Linked DNA regions of Homo sapiens: region 1 is linked to region 2. Evidence: promoter capture Hi-C in human tissues and cell types (Jung and others, 2019). All regions are on one chromosome and are shown on one strand. Each heading gives the region's core, a stretch centred on a gene start or on the middle of the fragment in contact. The rest is flanking DNA. Distances are from core to core; before and after follow the strand shown. Region 1 has its middle 22 kb from the start of LINC02926. Region 2 holds the start of ZNF844 (zinc finger protein 844).

What was found. Contacts are between HindIII fragments. The study calls those that stand out against the background at their distance.
Region 1: a fragment that was not itself captured here is called in contact with the fragment with the promoter of ZNF844 in region 2 in 1 of the 25 tissues and cell types used here (spleen).

Annotation. Positions count from the first base shown.
Region 1 is chr19:12,571,713-12,576,029 of GRCh38, reverse strand. No RefSeq gene overlaps it. Among named protein-coding and RNA genes, the nearest start is that of LINC02926, 22 kb to the right of the region's middle. The HindIII fragment of the contact is 5,850 bases long and covers 1-4,317 here.
Region 2 is chr19:12,061,926-12,066,398 of GRCh38, reverse strand. It overlaps ZNF844 (zinc finger protein 844), which reads right to left and starts at 1,668. Exons shown (of 4, transcript NM_001136501.3): 1 at 1,523-1,668. The coding sequence starts at 1,525. RefSeq lists a silencer at 1,224-1,403 and an enhancer at 1,494-1,583. The HindIII fragment of the contact is 18,413 bases long and covers 1-4,473 here.

The sequences.
Region 1 (4,317 bases), core at 965-3,464, 510 kb before region 2:
TTTTAATCATAAATGGGTGTTGAATTATGTCATGCTTTTTTGCATCAATTGAGACTGTCATTTTTCCGTCATTTCCTAATGTGGTGTATTCCACTGATCAATTTCCATATGGTGAACCATCCTTACATTCCAGGGACAAATCTCACTTGGTTATATTGCATAATGCTTTGAATATATTGCTTTATATGCTTTGCTGGCATTTATTTCAAGATTTTTGCATCAGTACTCATAAGGGACAGGAATGCCATCTTCCTTGCTCTCACGCCATGTCACACTTGCTTGAGAGCCCTGCATTGTTCTCTCTGATACCTCATTTTTGTAATAAGCCTTTTCATACTCTCGGTGTGTGTGTGCACCACATAGCTCTCGGTGTCAACCTCTGAAGCACACCTTTTCAGGCAACCGTAACAGTTGGCACTGTCAGCAGGATGTCTAGATGTTGGTCACCATGCAATGGGTCAGCTTTCCCTTTCTCTCAGGTGCTAACCTGCTCTGCTACCTGGTGGCCAGCATGCTCTTTGAGCTGCTGCTGCTTGCTGCTCTGTGTTCCATTGCTGAGGCCGAACAAACTTGTGTTCCAGATTTAGCCAACCGAAGATGGCAGTTTCTATAAGTCTTTGGCATTTAGGAGCAGGAGTATCGGATTTGGGCCCTCCTTAAAATGGTCTGGGCTAGGAGTTTTCACTTTGCCTTTCTATGTAGAATGAAGCTGGGACTGATGCTAGGTGTTGGCCTTGTCCTGTAGGTCTGGTGGTGGGGGCTGGTGGTGAGATTTTATCTTGTGCATGTTGGGGCCCCATTAGTGGTCATTCCTGAAAGAGCAGTCATTTGAAAATGAGAAAGAGCCTGGCGCAGTGGTGGTGGCTCACGCTTGTAATCCCACCACTTTGGGAGGCCAAGGCAGACAGATCACCTGAGGTCAGAAGTTTGAGACCAGCCTGGCCATTATGGTGAAACCCCATCTCTACTAAAAATACAAAAATTAGCTGGGCATAGTGGTGGACGCCTGTAATGCCAGCTACTCGGGAGGCTGAGGCAGTAGAATCTCTTGAACCTGGGAGGCAGAGGTTGCAGTGAGCCGAGATCGCACCACTGCACTCCAGCCTGGGCGACAGAGTAAGACTCCGTCTCAAAAAAAAAAAAAAAAAAGTGAGAAAGAAGGCTAGGCGTGGTGGTTTACACCTGTAATCACAGCTACTCAGGAGACTGAGGCAGGAGTATCACTTGAACCTGGGAGGTGGAGGTTGCGGTGAGCTAAGATTGCCCTACTGCACATAAACCTGGGCAGCAGAGCGAGACTCCATCTCAAAAAAAAGAAAAAAGAAAAAATGCGAAAGAAGAGAAGGTGGGGAAGCTACCATTAGATGGTGTCCTGAAGTTCACACTCAGCTGGACCTTTAAGTACCTCTGCTGCTGCCGCTGCCCATGCCTCTATCTCAACAGAGACCCTGATCCTCTGGGTTATAAGGGACAACCCCTGTGGCATTCCTGTAGCTCAACAAACGTATTCAAACCTGAATAAATCCCAGTATCCTTAAATTATGTAAAGCATCTGTTGTCATCCAGGAAATTCCTGCTAGGGTTTCAATGTCTTCTCCATAGTTATTGAAATATGGTCCAGTGTAGTGGTTTTAGGCCTAGTGGGAGGTGTTTAAGTCATAGGGTAGATGCCTCATGAAAGACTTCATGCTCTTCTCATTAGTAAAATCTTGTTCAGGCTGCATCTGGAGAGGGTTTCACCTGCCTACATTTGCGGCAGAAAGCAGAAGGGGAACCAGCGTGTGCAGAGATCACGTGGTGAGACAGGAAGTAAGAGGACATCAAGGAAGACAGACCCTTTAATAACCTACTCTCGTGGGAACCATTCCTGTGAAAGCAATAACAGAAGGGCGTTAATCTATTGTGATGGAGTTGCCTTTTTGACCCAAACACCTGCCACCTGGCCGCACCTCTCAAAACAGCTGCTTTGGAGATCAGATGTCAACGTGAGGCCAGGCATAGTAGCTCACACCTGTAATGCCAGTGCTTTAGGACACAAGGTGGGAGCATTACTTGATCCCAGGAAGTTGAGACCAGCCTGGTCAGCATAGCTAGGCCCCATTTAATTAATTTATTTATTTATTTATAGATGGAGTCTCCCTGTTGCCCAGGCTGGAGGCGCGATCTCGGCTCACTGCAATCTCCGCCTCCCGGGTTAAAATTTTTAATTTTAACATCTCTGTAATGCACTAACTGACAATCCTTCATGGGATTAATCAATCCCAGGAATCAGTTATATCTAGGAGTCCCACTAAATGTAAGAAGGTACACTCTATAATTTATTTATTTATTTATTTTGAGACAGAGTCTTGCTCTATGGCCCAGGCAGGAGTGCTGAGACAGACTCTCACTCTGTCGCCCAGGCTGGAGTGCAGTGGCGCGATCTCAGCTCACTGCAACCTCCACCTCCGGAGTTCAAGCTATTCTCCTGCCTCAGCCTCCCGAGTAACTGGGACTACAGGCACGTGCCACCACACCTGGCTAATTTTTTGTATTTTTAGTAGAGATGGGGTTCCACCATGTTGGTCAGGCTGGTCTCGATCTCCTGACCTTGTGATCCACCAGCCTCGGCCTCCCAAAGTGCTGGGATTACAGGAGTGAGCCACCTCACCTGGCCTGACTTGAGCTCCCAATAGCTTGCAGGTAAGAGTTTTTGGGTTTTTTGTTTTGTTTTGTTTTGTTTTTCTGAGACGGAATCTTGCTCTGTCACCCAGGCTGGAGTGCAATGGTGCAATCTCGGCTCACTGCAACCTCTGCCTCCTGGGTTTAAGCAATTCTCCTGCCTCAGTCTCCCCCGTCCCCGCCCCCGAGTAGCTGGGATTACAGGCACCTGCCACCACGCCCAGCTAATTTTTTGTATTTTTAGTAGAGATGGGGTTTCACCATGTTGGCCAGGCTGGTCTTGGACTCCTGACCTCGGGTGATCTGCCCACATTGGCCTCCCAAAGTGCTGGGATTATAGGGGTAAGCCACCGCACCTGGCCGCAGGTAAGAGTTTTTAAAGGCAGGAGTATTGTAAAGACAGCAGGGGAAACACACACACAGACACACACGGAAAAGGCAGGGGTAAATTTCAGGAAAGCAGAGGCTACAGGCAAGAATCATAAATCAGTACATGGAGGTTACACAGTGGTATAAGCTTAAAAGAATGGAATATCTTGAAGTGGGGCTCATAAGTCACAGGTAGATTCAAAGATCACATTTGCAATTGGTTAAGGAAGAAAGAAGTAAGCTGGGCGCGGTGGCTCACGCCTGTAATCCCAGCACTTTGGGAGGCCGAGGCCGGCGGATCACCTGAGGTCAGGAGTTCGAGACCAACCTGATCAACATGACGAAAACTGGTCTCTACTAAAAATACAAAAATTAGCCGGGCGTGGTGGTGGGTGCCTGTAATCCCAGCTTCTCGGGAGGCTGAAACATGAGAATAGCTTGAACCCGGGAGGCGGAGGTTGCAGTGAGCCAAGATTGCGCCATTGCACTCTAGCCTGGGCAACAGAGCGAGACTCCATCTCAAAAACAAACAAAAAAAAAAGGAAGAGAGAAGTTTTGTTTAAAAATTTAAGCTAGGCTGGGCAAATGGCTCACACCTGTAATCCCAGCTACTTGGGAGACTGAGGCAGGCGAATCGCTTGAACTCGGGAGGTAGAGGTTGCAGTGAGTTGAGATCACGCCATTGCACTCCAGCCTGGGCAACAAGAGTGAATCTCCGTTTCAAAAAAAAAAAAAAAACTTTAAGTTAGGTGCGGTGGCTCATGCCTGTAATGCCAGCACTTTGCGAGGCCTAGGCAAGAGGATCATTTGAGGCCAGGATTTCAAGACCAGCCTAGGCAACATAACAAGACTTCATCTCTGAGAAAAATGAGGTCATAAGATTAAAAAAAAGAAAAATCGGGTTGTCACGCGTGTCCGTGTGAAGAGACCACCAAACAGGCTTTGTGTGAGCAGTAAAGCTGTTTATTTCACCTGGGTGCAGGCAGGCTGAGTCCAGAAAGAGTCAGTGAAGGGAGATAGGGGTGGGGCTGTTTTATAGGATTTGGGTAGGTAGTGGAAAATTACAGTCAAAGGGGGTTGTTTTCTCGCGGGCAGGAGTGGGGGTCATAAGGTGCTCAGTGGAGGAGCTTCTGAGCCAAGAAAAGGAATTTCACAAGGTAATGTCAGTTAAGGCAGGAACCAGCTATTTTCACTTCTTTTGTGATTCTTCACTTGCTTCAGGCCATCTGGATGTATTCGTGCAGGCTTGGGCTCAGAGGCCTGACAGGGGTCAGTAGAAAAATAACT
Region 2 (4,473 bases), core at 419-2,918:
GGTATAGACTGGTCCCAAGATACTTCTGCAGATAAGTGTTTTCAGGTTTTTTGCTTGTCTGACACCCATGGCTCCACTCAGGCCCACCAACCCTGCTCCTCTATAAGCAACTCAGCACTCAGGAGGACCATTTCCCACCACCTCTTCCCCGATTCTGCCTTTGAAAAACCCCTGGCCGAGTTCGGTGGCTCACACCTGTAAACCCAGCACTTTGGGGGGCCGAGGTGAGCAGATCGCTTGAGCCCAGGAGTTCAAGACCAGCCTGGGCAACATGGCGAAACCCCATCTCTACCAAAAATACAAAAATTAGCCGCCTGCGCCTGTAGTCCCAGCTACTCGGGAGGGTGAGGCAGCACAATCACCTGAGCTGCTGCTCAGGTGGGTCCAGGATGCAGTGAGCCGTGATCGCGCCATGCACTCCAACCTGGGCGACAGAGTGAGACCTTGTTTAAAAAACAATTTTTAGCCGGGCCAGGTGGCTCACGCCTGTAATCCTAGCCCTTTAGGAGGCCGATGCGGGCGGATCACCTGAGGTCAGGAGTTCAAGACCACCTTGGCCAACACGGTGAAACCCCGTCTTTACTGAAAATACAGAAATCAGCAGGGCGTGGTGGCGTGCCTGTAACCCCAGCTACTAGGGAAGCTGAGCAGAAGAATCGCTTGAATCCGGGAGGCAGAGGTTGCACTGAGCCCAGATCGTGTCATTGCACTCCAGCCTGGGCAAAAAAGAGCGAGACTCTGTCTTAAAAAAAAAAAAAAAAATTGTAAGAAAAAAATATTAAAGAAAAATCCCTAACTATAAGCCTTCGGGGAGACTGATTTGAGTGCTAACTCTGTCTCCGTCTTCGGCGTTGCGTGGTCCATCTCGTGTCAAACATTTTCTTTACTGCAATGCCCTGGTCTTTCTTTTTGCAGCACAGGCAGGAAGAACCCCTCAGGCGATTACAACAACAAAGCATCTAGTACACATTGATCATGATGTGAACAAAAACACGACAGCAGTTGCCAAGCTCTAAGCCACAGACAGCAGGGAAAACATTTATCCGCTGTCACAAGTTCTCCACGCTAGGCCAGGCGCGGTGGCTCACGCCTCTATTCCCAGCACCGGGCCTGTTTAAGTTTTAACAGGAGAAAGGGGGCACTGAGGGCCTCACAGCGCAGCTCCTCCCGCACGAGCCCCACACCCAAGGCGGGATTGCCCCCATGACCCTCCCGTGGCCCCGCACAATATGGAGAGGCTCCGGGCTGCGGGCGCGGAGCTGTCCAGAGAGGGCTCCCGGGCTGGGGCCGCAGTCGCCGCGCGGCGACGAGACAGGGCGCCCAGGGGTCCCGGCTGCCGGCCCAGCCGCACCCGGCGGCCGAATGGACCGAAGGCCGAGCTGCGCCAGCGGGGCTCGGGCCCCAGACCTCGAGTCGCCGCGGGGAGGTCCGGGTCCCGGCACAGCCGGTTCCAGCCAGTTCCAACCAGCCTCCGCCTACCCTCCCCCAAGTCTCGGGACTCCCAGCGGGGGCTCACACTCACCATTTCCTGGCTTTCAGGTGACTCCCACGTCCAAAGCAGTCACAACACAGACGACAGGGCGACAGAAGTATGGCGGTGGCAACCGGTCCCTCTCAGAGCAGGAAAAACGGGGTGCCAACCTCACCCGGCGGGAGGGGCCAAAGACTGAGGCGAACGGCAATGTGACCCGCGGATAAACAGTTGGCCGGGCCCCACCCCGGCGACTCTGATTGGGTGGAGCGCCAGGCCCCGCCCCCTGCATCCTGAGTGACAGCAGAAGTCCTGGGTAACAGGGCCAAGCAGAGCAGGACTGACCGCTTCAAGCCACAGTCCAAGGTCAAGTTCCCTCTCTACGCCCTGCTCTTTGAAAATTTGCATTTCGGCCAAACTTGCTCGTCTTAATTACTAGAAGTGGCTCTGTCAATGGTCTGTCCCTGCTTCTTCGTCCTGCACAGTGTCATAAGTGTGTGCAGGGAGTTCCAGACTCTATGTTTAATAGAGGTGAAAGCAATTAAAATATTTTATTCCAAAATATATTTATTTGGCAATTTCGAATGGCTGCAGCTTTGCCCTTGCACAACTGTCTTCTGGGGGGTGAAATTTGCGTCTATGGAGTATTTCCATTAGTGAAGCCATGCCCCCTCTCCCCTTTTCCCTTTCCCTGATCCGGGAGAAATTGAGAGTCTGACACTTTTAAAAGTCTGGAAAGCCGGGCGCGGCGGCTCACGCCTGTAATTTCAGCACTTTGGGAGGCCGAGGCGGGTATATCACCTGTGGTCGGGAGTTCGAGACCAGCCTGGCCAACATGGTGAAACCACATCTCTACTAAAATACAAAATATTAGCCAGTCGTGGTGGCGGACGCCTGTAATCCTAGCTATGTGGGAGGCTGAGGCAGGAGAATCACTTGAAGCTGGGAGGCGGAGGTTGCAGTGAGCCGAGATCATGCCACTGGACTCCAGCCTGGGCAACAAGAATGAAACTCCGTCTCAAAAAAAACAAAAACAAAAAAAGTCTGGAAAGAGGCCAGGCAAGGTGGCTGGGGCCTGTAATACCAGCACTTTAGGAGGCCAGGGCAGGAGAATCACTTTGGCCCAGGAGTCGAGGGCTGCAGTGAGCTGTGATTGCACCAGTACACTCCAGCCTGGGCAACAGAGTGAGACCAAAAAACAAAATAAGTAAGAAATTCTGGTTTTGCTTTTTTTTTTTTTTTTTTTTGAGATGGTGTCTTGCTCTGTTGCCCAGGCTGGAGTGAGTGACGCGATCTCGGCTCACCGCAAGCTCCGCCTCCCGGGTTCACGCCATTCTCCTGTCTCAGCCTCCCGAGTAGCTGGGACCACAGGCGCCTGCCACCATGCCTGGCTAATTTTTTGTGCTTTTAGTAGAGACGGGGTTTCACCGTGTTAGCCACGATGGTCTCGATCTCCTGACCTCGTGATCCGCCCGTCTCGGCCTCCCAAAGTGCTGGGATTACAGGCGTGAGCAACCGTGCCCGGCCAGAAATTCTTAAAAGAAGCATTTTGCATCCATTCTCTCTGTGGGAGTCTTCATCTATGTTGTGGGTGAGTGGCTACTATCTGGGCCAGTGGCGCAAGGGTAAAAGAATTTATCAAGACTGGCCGGGCGATGTGGCTCACACCTGTAATCCCAGCACTTTGGGAGACCGAGGCGGGCGGATCACCTGAGGTCAGGAGTTTGAAACCAGCCTGGCCAATGTGGCGAAACCCCATCTCTACTAAAAATACAAAAATTAGCCGGGCTTGGTGGTGGGCGCCTGTAATCCCAACTACCCAGGAGGCTGAGGCAGGAGAATCGCTGGAGAATCGGGAGGCAAAGGCTGCAGTGAGTCGAGATTGTGCCACTGCACTCCAGCCTGGGCAACAGAGCAAGACTCCATCTCAAAAAAAAAAAAAAAAAAAAAAAGGGATTTACCAAGACAGTTGTAGGTAAAAAAAAAAAAAAAAAAAAAAAAAAAGGCAGATTTATTAAGGAAAATATGAAAGTACCTTGCAAGAAGGCAACAGGCAGAACCAGCAGAAGGGAGCCGGCTGCAAAGAAACAAAGGTTTGCTAGAGATTTTATAGAATGCAACTTGGGAACTTGCATTGTTTTGTCACCTGAAATGTTTGATAAATCAAGGTTTTTGATGGTAAGCAAGAAATTTGTGAGTTATGTACATTATTTGTTTAGGAGGGCTATTTGTTCTGGGCCGTAAAGAAAGTGATACCTATGGCCAGGCACGGTGGCTCACGCCTGTAATCCCAGCACTTTGGGAGGCCAAGGCGGGCAGATCACCTAAGGTCAGGAGCTCAAGACCAGCTGGCCAACATGGCGAAACCCAGTCTCTACTAAAAAATACAGAAATTAGCCAGGCCTGGTGGCGGGTGCCTGTAATCCCAGCTACTCTGGAGGCTGAGGCAGGAGAATTACTTGAACCTGGGAGGTGGAGGTTGCAGTGAGCGAGATGCTGAGATTGAGTGACTGCACTCCAGCCTGGGTGACAAAGTGAGATTCCATCTCAAAAAAAAAAAAAAAAAAGTTTTTCTGGACTTTGAAAAACAAAAGAATTAGCAATATTTTAAACAAAAAGCTATAAAAAGATTATTTTAGTCTTCCCTTAGTTCAGTCTATGTCATAAACTTCTGTTCTGCTCAATAGTTATGAGCACATTAGTACTCAACAACAGTTTTACAGTTTTAAAATTCTTTTTATTTTTTGTTTCTTGTCCACCCGGGTTTTTATTTTTATTTTTATTTTTTTGAGACGGAGTCTCGCTCTGTCACCCAGGCTGGAGTCCAGTGGTGCGATTTTAGCTCACTGCAAGCTCCGCCTCCTGGGTTCACGCCATTCTCCTGCCTCAGCCTCCCGAGTAGCTGGGACTACAGGCGCCTGCCACCACGCCCGGCTAATTTTTTTTTTGTATTTTTAGTAGAGAGGGGGTTTCACCGTGTTAGCCAGGATGGTCTAGATCTC